Linked DNA regions of Homo sapiens: region 2 is linked to region 1. The links are contacts of gene promoters, found by promoter capture Hi-C in blood cells and fetal thymus (Javierre and others, 2016). All regions are on one chromosome and are shown on one strand. The core of a region is centred on a gene start or on the middle of the fragment in contact, and the rest is flanking DNA. Distances in the headings are between cores, read along the strand shown. Region 1 holds the start of SMIM2 (small integral membrane protein 2). Region 2 overlaps SERP2 (stress associated endoplasmic reticulum protein family member 2).

What was found. The method cuts DNA at HindIII sites, captures the fragments that hold promoters and counts their contacts. A CHiCAGO score of 5 or more calls a contact.
Region 2: a fragment that was not itself captured here is called in contact with the fragment with the promoter of SMIM2 in region 1 in 1 of 17 cell types (total B cells); the score reaches 5.0 in total B cells.

Annotation. Positions count from the first base shown.
Region 1 is chr13:44,157,075-44,162,688 of GRCh38, reverse strand. It overlaps SMIM2 (small integral membrane protein 2), which reads left to right and starts at 1,432. Exons shown (of 3, transcript NR_197392.1): 1 at 1,432-1,544; 2 at 1,758-2,086. It overlaps SMIM2-IT1 (SMIM2 intronic transcript 1), which reads left to right and starts at 4,467. Exons shown (of 3, transcript NR_046843.1): 1 at 4,467-4,667. RefSeq lists an enhancer at 2,301-3,500. The HindIII fragment of the contact is 6,510 bases long and covers 1-3,347 here.
Region 2 is chr13:44,377,208-44,382,450 of GRCh38, reverse strand. It overlaps SERP2 (stress associated endoplasmic reticulum protein family member 2), which reads right to left. Exons shown (of 3, transcript NM_001010897.3): 2 at 2,738-2,810. Among named protein-coding and RNA genes, the nearest start is that of SERP2, 6.0 kb to the right of the region's middle. The HindIII fragment of the contact is 2,074 bases long and covers 1,446-3,519 here.

The DNA of each region.
Region 1 (5,614 bases), core at 183-2,682:
ATAGAGCCTTAGGGACTTATGGAACATACTGTGTCCTCACTAGGCTGGAGCAGGGACTATGGTTGTGGATGCCATAATTGGTCTGCTTTGGAAAGGGCTTCCTTTATCTCCACCAAAGAGATATCACCAAAGATCTGGGGGCAGCTTGGCCAGTCTATGTGCTGACTCTCTGCTGGAGCTGTCTCCTAATCAGGTCACTGCTAGAGTTCCTCTTCCTAAATGTCCCAGTGCCATGACTTTGGTGCTCTAGCTTGTGGGATTGAATCAATCTAAGAGTCCAGAGTCTATGAGGACTCCTTCTTCTCTATTGTATGCTGCTGTCTGAAGCTAAATGCTATTGTACAAGTTTTGTTGCTGTTTAGATTTTTTTTTGTTCCCAGATTATTGTTCCAAAAATAGACCTACGATATATTCTTATACATTTGAATTTAATTAAGAACCTTTTTCTCAATGACATAAATATGGTTTTACTATTTCCAGCCAGGCCAGACAAAGATGCCTGAAGACAGATTTCTAAATGATGCTATGTGCCAATTTCTCTGATCTTTTTAATATTGTAACTAAGGGGCCTTGCTCTGAGATGGTGGTTTACGATTTTGACATGCTGTCCTGTACCACTCTCTGATCACAAGGGAATACGTAGAAACTCACCAAAGCAACTGCTGTCAGTCATCAAAGTGGAGCCACATTGTCCCTTCTAACCTCATAAGGATCCTTATGGGATTCAGGATGATCACATTTTCAGTGCTCTAAGGACTGTCTCCGTATGACCCCAGCCATACCATGCCCATTACTGATGTATTTGACCTGTTGAGCCTCCAACAGCATTGCAGACTCCACTTTTTGTGTTCCAACAGGACTAAGGCCAGAAGCGAATGTCCTATTTTTTCCTGCCATTTCTCTGCTGAGCAACAGTTCACCCTTGAAGCTGCTGCTGCCTAAAGAACAGGAGAAGATTCAGGAATGCTAACAATAGTTACCTACATATCGCATGCCCTCTGCCCTTGCCCATTGTAAGAGCCTCACCACTTGGATCAGTAAGAGTCCACACTTGCTCAGTACATCTTGGTGCTCACTTCAGCTGTGGGCTCTGATTTAAACATCCAGCTCAGGGGATGCCTCTTTGGTGCATGTCATAATCAGGAGAAGAATGCTGGCTTTGGATTCTGGAACTGACTCCATTTGTAGTGAAGAGTTTGGAGAGCATCAATAATGGGATGGCAACATTCATTCATTCATTTATACCTCTAACCAGTCTTTCCTCACATACTGGTTGAGTACTCAATACGTGCCCTGTGCTTAGCTGAGTACTGTTCAATGGTGAACAAAGAAGACATGGTCTTAACTAGAAGTTCCTATTTCAACAGAGTAGCCCAAGGAACTTCAACCACTTTTGCTACAGGTGTATTAGTTACTGCCAAGAGTCTGTAAGTGTTCATGGGCCTCATTAAGCTCTGCCTTCCTTCTGCTTTTTGGAGCCTGGCCTTTGGTTGGCCTTGAATGAAGAGTGGGGCCCCAAAAGTACCACTGTCAGCACTCTCCAGGTGAGTATTATCCTGGGAGAGGCCAGGGCATGAGGAGGGCCAGGGCGTGGGGCCCTCTGAAGGCTGTGTCATCCCAGGCTTCAGCCACAGAGGTTTTATTACGGAGGAAAGCTGAGCTGTGAGCACGTTGCTAGGCTGTGGCTATTTATTTTTATAAACGAGCCTTGTGCTTAATTTAGAAACCTGCTTTTTCTTTTTCTTTCTTCTTTCCAGCATCATCTGGCTGTCTGGCACCATCAAAGAATTGCATTTCTGACCCAAGAAGAGCTTATGGGTGGATGGGGGTGGGATGGAAGCTGGGGAGAGGATTGATGCCAGCCAGCTGCCTCACAGGGTGCTGGAAACACGTGGCCATGCCATTAGCATCCTGTTCGGCTTCTGGACGAGTTTCATCTGTGACACCTACATAGTCCTCGCTTGGATCAGCAAGATAAAAGGCAGCCCTGATGTTAGTGCCTCCTCTGATGAGCCATACGCCAGAATCCAGCAGAGCAGAAGGCAATGCCACGCAGAAGAGGACCAAAGTCAGGTGCCAGAAGCAGGTGACATCTCCACTCTCAGTTCTTTGGAGGCAGCTATTTTAATAGAACCACTTTACTGCAGCTATTTTGACATGAGGATATTTTGGTATGGCTCAAAGATTCAGCCGATAAATGTTCAGCTTTTTAAAAAATAAATGATGAGTAAAATAGGCATCTTGCAGGCCATCTGTGAGCTTCACCTCAACCTTGATCTTCACCTCCCCCCCTCCATTGTCAATCTTACCTCCAGGCATCAAGGGTGTATGGATTGGTAACAGATGAAGGAAAGGACTGGTAGAGGTTCAAAATGAAAGAAATAGCAGGTCAGGACTCCAGGAGGGTTGAGGGTCTTTTAAAGTAAAACAAAACAAACAAACAAACAAAAAAACAGGGTCAACCAAATTCAGAAGTCAGGTAGAAGTCAGAGAAGGAATGAAAGATGGGAAACTGGTTATAAACCAAATACAGCGAGTCTGAATTTTGGCTTGTTTTGAGGCTGCTGTATCAAAACAGTTGTGTTGGAAGAGCTGCATGAAATTGTTGGGCAAGAAATAGTCCACTCATGATTCAGATAAGCTCATTTTGCCTCTTCCATGGTCGATTTCTGACTCATAAATGTCTATACATTTCACTTTACGGCTTATGTGAGCCTCAGTTTCCCCACATAAAATGCAGATGATGATGTTGGCCCTTCCTCTTTCCCCACCTTTTGCTCTCCTTCCAAGTGGCATGATGAGGAATGAGCCAGCATCTTGTAAACTGCTCCAGGCCACCTGGAGAAATGTGCTTGCGTAAATAGTCGGCATTAGTATACGTGAGTCTTCCATGAGTAAAGAATTTCAGAGTTGGCAGCCGTCTCTGCCTGGTGATTCATGTGGGCACGATGATGCCCTTAGCTACAATGTATGGTGTGGGTGATGAATTTGTTCTTGTCACAGCAGAGGACTGAGTATTCTTTACCCAAATGCTATAGATTGAGTTTGCACATGGGAACTAGATTAGCTCTGAAGAGAGTTGAAAGGAACCTGACATTTCTGCCTACAATCTAGAGTTTCATTGTACAAACAACCGCAGCAGCACATTTGTGCCCAACCATTGGCTCCCTTTGCCAGCAAAGAAAATCTTCTAAATTCTTCTGCCATTTGTCAAACCTGCCAAAGTCCCTGGAGGCAGTTCTGGTATAATTGAAGGTGGAGAAAGATAATATTCTCTCTACCAGGTTTCACTACTTCCTGTGTTGGTTGTTCACAAGGGGAGAGCTTCTGCATCACAGGATGAAGCTTCGGTGATTTAGATGTGGAATATCCTTCCAGGATTAGGGCAAGGAGGCCCCAGCTTCCAGAACCCTGTCCTGCAGCCTCCGCGTGGCTGGGCAGCGGCCTTCCTTTGAGCCTTCAGGGTGGAAACGAAGGACACGTGCGTCTCTGCAGCACTTCCGGCTTTCGCTCAATCCTATTTTCAGAGCCAAAGCGCCATCTCCTCTGGTACAGTTAATCTTTGTTCCTGCCACTGACCCTTCTATCTTTATTACTTTTCACCACGTCCTGGCCTTCAGATTTCTTATGGATTTGTCTCTCAGGCGTTGTGTTTTGATTCCCTCCTCACATTTACTTCCAAGTGCCAAGAACAACTTTGTTCCGGCAGAAGGATATTATTTGGCTTAAAAAGAAGAATGAGCAGTGGCTTCTCTCCATCAGCATTCTTTAGGTTTACGTGGGAATTCATTCTGGGAACCATTTAGAGTCTCCTTCAAGCCTCTCCCTGACCGACAAAGTTTCTGTCCCAGAGAGTTACTTTGCTTCCATTGTTTCTAAGTGGATGATAAGAACCTTTCTTTCTGAGCCTGTGTAGAAGGACTCAACACCCCTCCCCTCAATACTCCCCAGAGTATCCATTGGCTGGGCCCACAATGGATACACCCTGAGTATTGTTACCATTGTTATAGACTTCAGCATCAACTCCAGTATTTGGTGGTCCAATAAACCTTGAGTCCTCTTCAAGAATTGTTAGTTTTTCCCACCTTTGAGAACCACACTCACCCTTTAAGGCAGCTCTTCCTAAGTGACTGACAAACACTCCCTGGTTGAGCTGGTGGGGGCAGGTCCAGCCAACAATGGCTTCTCTGTTGACATCACACAGGCCTTAATGACACAGACTAGTCACAACAGCTGGTGCCCTCATGAGTGCCTATTAATATTTTGGGTAAGTTGTATTGCCCCATCCACCACTCTGTATAGTGATTCTGGAATTTGCTATTTGATACAAGCAAACGAAGAGATGGAAGGGGCTGTTCACCACTCAGTCTGCAAGCAAGCCTGTCGTGCCCATCTGCCAAGAGGAGTCCTTGTGTGCCTCCAAAATGGCCTGGTCCTTAACTTGATCTGCTTGGACTGATTGCAAACAGTGGCTTAGCTTCCTCTAGACCAGAGGACATTCTGTGCTCCCAAAACAGAATGCTACACATGGGAACAAGGGAAAGGGAGGCTTTGAGAGGTCAGCCAGCAAGGCCCCTGCTTCAAGCCTAAAACCAACGTAATTAGGTGAAGATTGAGCAGGATAAGGCTTTGCAAGGAACATCCCTGCCACGTCAAGGTGATCCCAGGTACGTGAATTGGCTCCTTTTGAGTCTTCCTACAACTCTTGGAGGCAAATAGGGCGGGTATTATTACTCTAGTTCTACCAAGGGAGAAACTAAGTTCTAGAAGTCAACTAAGGAAGTTATGTAACTTACTGGCGGACAGGACACAAGAAACCTCAAATTCCTGACATCTGTTCCAGTTTTTCCCATCACCCCATGTTGCCCTTCAGCAGGGCTTAAGCAAAACAGCCAACGCAAGTCCTAGCCTTTCCAGCTGGGCTGAAGTTAGAAACTGGCATGGATTTACAATGGAGTAGCTGGGGCCTGGGAGGCTACAGATAACTGCTTCTACTTGCTCGTATTGCAAGGCAAGGCTATATGGCTCAGCAGGGCTGAAACTATTTGGAGACTCGATTTTTACATGGTCATGGTGAGGGGGAGTGCAAATGAGAAAAAGGTACAACAATTTGCATTTGTGTGTGTGTGTGTGTGTGTATGCACATGTGCACATGTTTGGGCACACAGATGAGAAGACATTACTGTCATGATGGCTGTTGCAAGTGGATGGAGCATGTTCCCTTGCAGGTCATCTGCAGCTTCATGGACACACTGTAGCTTCTTACCTAAAGCTTCCACATCTCTGCCTGATGGCTCTCTCTGGCCACAGAAATTTGTTAAGCCCCATGCATGGGGAAGCCCAGAAGAGCATCAGAGTTAAAGGGGCCTGGAGCAACCCTTAACCAATGAAGGATGGAGCTTGTTAAAAAAAAAAAGTCTCCGTTTTTTTATACCCCCTGCCAACAGGAAAATCGAGGTGTTTTCCACTGAGCCTTTGAGAGGGACTCCAGAGGAAGTAAAACCCAAGTGCTCTGTGCAGCATCCTGCTCATGTACACCCCCTTTATTGGCTAACCCACCTCTCTCTATCTTGCTTCTCCAATCCCTCACTGTGTTTCTGGGGATCATATCCCC
Region 2 (5,243 bases), core at 1,233-3,732, 220 kb before region 1:
TTTTTTTTTTTTTTGAGACGGAGTCTCGCTCTGTCGCCCAGGCTGGAGTGCAGTGGCACAATCTCGGCTCACTGCAAGCTCCACCTCCCTGGTTCACGCCATTCTCCTGCCTCAGCCTCCTAAGTAGCTGGGACTACAGGCACCTGCCACCAGGTCCGGCTAATTTTTTTGTATTTTTAGTAGAGACGGGGCTTCATCGTGTTAGCCAGGATGGTCTTATCTCCTGACCTCATGATCCGCCCGCCTCGGCCTCCCAAATGCTGGGATTACAGGCGTGAGCCACCGCGCCCAGCCTAAAATTTTAATAGAAGTAATCGTTCTTCTTTGAGAATAAAAAAAAAAGTCATAAAGTTTTATATTAGGTCTCAAAAAAGGTCAACTAGATATCTACAGTATGAGGAATATCTGGCTTTATCCATCCATCCATCCATCCATCCATCCATCCATCCATCCATCCATCCTAAGCACTAACTATGTGCTAAATACTAAACTAGGATCTACAAATTTAATGAAAAATAAACACTGTCTCCCCTGAGCTTATATCCTACTGGAGGGAAATGAACCTAAGTAAGTAAACTAAATAACTGCAACTGCTGATGAGGGTCATGAGTAAAATAAAATAATATGTGATGGAGACAGGAGAGACTTGGGATAAAGGGGTATGTAGATGTGTTTCCGGGGTTGCAGGAAGTTTATCTGAGGAAGAGCTGGGTGGCATCTGGCTGGCCATCAGCTAGACGTGAGTCAAGGATGTGCTGCAACTGTTAAAAAGTAACTGCAAGCCTGGGTCACATTAATAGAGGCAGAGTGGTGAGCAAAATCAAGGGCAGTGACAATCCTACTGCCTCTGTGGTGGTCACACTGCTTCTAGACCACCTTCTGCAGTTGCAAATGCTATACTTTTTTTTTGAGACGCAGTCTCGCTCAGTTGCCCAGGAAGGAGTACAGTGGCACGATCTCGGCTCACTGCAAGCTCCACCTCTGCAGTTCAAGTGATTCTCCTGCCTCAGCCTCCTGAGTAGCTGGGACTACAGGCGCGTGCCACCATGTCCAGCTCATTTTTTGTATTTTTAGTAGAGACAGGGTTTCACCATGTTGGCCAGGATGGTCTCGAACTCCAGACCTTGTGATCCTCCCCACCTCGGCCTCCCAAAGTGCTGGGATTACAGGCGTGAGCCACTGCGCCTGGCTTTTTTTTTTTTTTTTTTTTTTGAGACGGAGTTTCACTCTTGTTGCCCAGGCTGGAGTGCAATGGCGCGATCTCTGGCTCATGGCAACCTCTGCCTTCTGGGTTCAAGTGATTCTCCTGCCTCAGTCTCCCAAGTAGCTGGGATTACAGGCATGCGCTGCCAAATGCTACCCTTTAAGAAAGTCATTGAGCAGATCCAGAAGAGGAGTCTAGAAACCACATCTTATGAGGCAAGGTCGAGAGATTTAGGGAAGCTTAGTTTGCAGAAGGAGCCACCAGGCAGTCATCTTTAAAATATCTGATGATTCAAGGTGCTTAGAGGAGAACGAGTCCATTCTGTGTTACCCTAGGAGTTCAAATCTGAACAACTGAGAAGACAGCATAGTGTAATTCAAAACAGGAGAGACATTTCTAATAGAATTCCAGCAGACATGGAATAGGCTTTTTGAAGAAGTATTCAAATAGGGATTGGGTAAACAGCTGTTTAAAAGATGTCCTTAAAGATACTTCTTTGGGAATAGAGTAGAACTGTCTTTCTTTGAGTGTAAGATTTTCTCATCTTGGAATGCCAAATCATCTTTAAAATATTTGAGCCACAAGCAACAATAATGCCAAGTACTTTGGATCCTTCCTTCCTCCTAAGAGTTTTTGCTTCTTTGGAAGAGTGGTCTCTTGAAGATAAAAGGAACTGATCCATCTTAAATTTTTTTTTTAATTTTCATGATTTTAGGTTTGAATGCATGATTCATCTTTAGTCATGGGCTTCTCTTGTCATTGGGGCAGAGGCTGTCTTGCTGGGAGGCCTAAGCCTGAGCAGGAAGATGTGGACCTTCTGCCTCCCTGCCCTCAGTAACAGTGAGATGCTGGAGGGTGGGAATCCCTCAAGGCATGCTGTGTAGTTAGAAGAAGTGACCTCCACTCACAAGGATTTCTGAGACCCAACATATGGGGATCAGGAACCATGTCAAGGCTAGTTCAGCATGTAACTAGAAACAATGGCACGATGCTTCTGCTCATCTTCCCTGCATTTGTGTGTATGTGTGTATCTGCATGTGTGTAAGTAAAGCTCTCAACTTGCCACCTTACAGTATCAGGTGACCCATACCTTAAGGCTTGGGTCAAAGGCTCAGTTGTATCTAGGAAGTTGTATCTAGGAGCTCTGCAGAACTTTCTCATAAGGCATAAGGCCTCTCCCTTTCTCGGAATGTGGATTTATCACAGGCACACAGGTGTTTCACCTTCTGTTCTAATGCCCTTTTAAGGCTATGTCTGCACAAAAAGACTTTACTGAACTCTACAGTGTATACAGCCACTTTAACTACTCAGTGTAATCATTTTATGATTAGGATTTGATAGTGTATTAATTGTGTCTCTACCTATATTTGGAATAGAAACTAAATCAAAACCCATTAAGATTAAGGCTTAAGGCAGTGATAAACTTGAATCCCATACCAGTATGTTTTTCATCTATTTGCTTTGTGAAGAAAACGTGTGTTTTTCAAAGGCCAGTGGAGAACATGGGATATAAGTTCAGTGAAACACCCATACCTGAGCCACAGACAACAAAAACAAACAGTGCCAACAGCCATGGTCCCACAGGATATTTCTCCTCTTGCGGCCTCTAAAAGGGAATGGGAAAAAGTAAGATTAGGTTCATTGACTCAATAAACAATTATTTGAGTATCACTAGGCATTGTGCTAGGTGCTGGGGATTCTACTGCGAATGAGACAGACTTGGTTTCAATCCCTCAGTGGACAGATATAGATGAATGAAGTCCATTAAAAGGATTGAGACAGGTTTGTAAAAATTCATCCATAACCTTATTAACATCCCTGTAACTCAGTGAACTTGGTGGTCTTAAATATTCTGGGGACAGATATGGTATGAATACATAAACCAATATGGCGATTTAGGAACCAAAATGATATTAATAATAACTTTCCATCTGCTGAGTAATGCTCTGTGCCAGGCACTACACTAGGCAGTCTGCATTCATTATTTCTGGCAAGTATTATTATTTCCATTTTGGAGTTGAGAAACTGAGGCTCAAAGTTTGTTAACTTGAGCAAGAGCTGGGATTCAAATTTAGGTCTGCCTCATTATAAAGCCTGAGTATTTTCCATTAACAGATTCAATATTTAGTTTTTGCATCTGTGAATTCCAAGCAGGATCAGAGAGCACAGACATTTTCTGAAAACCTTTTACATAACCCCAAATTAGGAAGTCAGTACAGTGGAAATCCTTGCAACAACAGAAGCACCACAGCAATTGTGAATGGTTATGAGTGAAGCAGCATTTTGTAATAAAGCTCCTAAGCCTTAATAAAGCTTGCACTTGGGAGAAGTCTCTGAATTCTCTGGGAAGCAGAAGGGGACTGTCAAAACTGCATGAATGAAGCCCTACAGACCTCCTGCTTTTTCAAACCAAAAGCACAGACATAATAAGATCTTCCCTCCACAACACCTCCAGGTCTATGTGCAGGTAGGGCTTGGTCCTTAAACCCAAATCAGTCAGAACAACAAATATTTTCTGAGAGATGCATCAGAAAAGAAGTGAATTTCTCAAATAGAATGGGAGAGTGAAAAAAAAAACAACAACAAAGAACTCACTAATTATTTTCTGATTAGCTTGAAAAATAGGCTGCATTCAACACACGTTAAAGAATTCACATGCAAAACACACAAAGAAAAACGTGTTGGTAGAGTGGAATGTTCACAAGTATTGATTTGTGGTTGATCTCATAAAACCCAATTCCAGATTTCAATTAAATGTTGTTGACATTTAAACATTGTATTCAACATTGTAAAATATGGGCTAAAAGGTATGTTCATATCCATACAAATACCACAGCTTGACATTCAGACTGAAGGTATGTAATAGTGTTTCAAAAAAAACGAGTGGTGCTATCATCAAGGATGTAAGTTTTTGAAATGTTGAACAAGTTTTAGTAATGTTTCTAACAAAAACTTCTTTAAAAAAGGATAATCTTCCTTTGATTTTCACTGTAGTTGCTTTCCTAGAAAATTTATCATATATTAAAACTGTAAAATCTATGATGTGTTGTATTTATATGTAAAATTAAGTTCTAGGCTAATGTAAATGTAAACTGGCTTCTCATCTAAAAAAGGAATTTATTTTATCATAGATAAGGCAACAGTTCTTTAGTTTTCAGCTTACCAAAGAGCCCTTCTCTTTTACCTCACTTGGGTCCACTCGTCACTTGTATGGCCACATACTTTTTCTTGATAGCATGTGTCACAGTTTGTAGGTCTATATTTATTCTTGTGATAATTAATGTGTTTAATATCTGTCTCTCTATGAGACTACAGACCCCACAAGGGCAGGGACTATGTCTTGTTCATGTAGTAATATATAGAAATGCCTGCCACAGAACTTAAACATAGGAGATAATAAACGTTCATCAAAGAACAAATAAACATACAAGTTTCATTAAATAAGATTTCTTAGGTTAGGCAGAGTAAACACAGGTTCTAGGAAGGATATTGTCTTTTTAGTAATAATTCCTAATTGGTGTAGGATTATCCCTGTATCTCTCCTACATGAGAAATATGGATTAAAGTGTCAACGGCAGGTAGACTTTGACTAAGGATTAAGACATTCACTTCTCTGTCCTTGACTAAGCCTGTATCTACCACCACTTACATGCCGGCAAGTCACACTGCAAAGGAATCGGTGGCTGCTCTTAATCAGACGAGGACAAGATCAGTCTTAAATAATTGCATAAGATAACTGTGCCATTTTTTGGCCCTTAAGGCCAGGCCAAGTTCAGATCCGGTAAACAACATTCATAAAGCTACCTGAACAAAGTGTGACATTCGCCCTTCCCACCCTCTTCCACCACCTTCCCAGGAACTTGTCACAGTTGCCCAGAAACCAGTTCTGTTGCTGTTGTGCCACTGATGCTATATAAAAAAATTCATTTTATCTCTATTTCCAGCAAAGCTAATAAGTGAATTCAGAAGCCTGTAATGAATTACTTGCCCAGGACAGATACCAAATAGAGTCCTTTATTTTTCATATGCAGAAAAAACA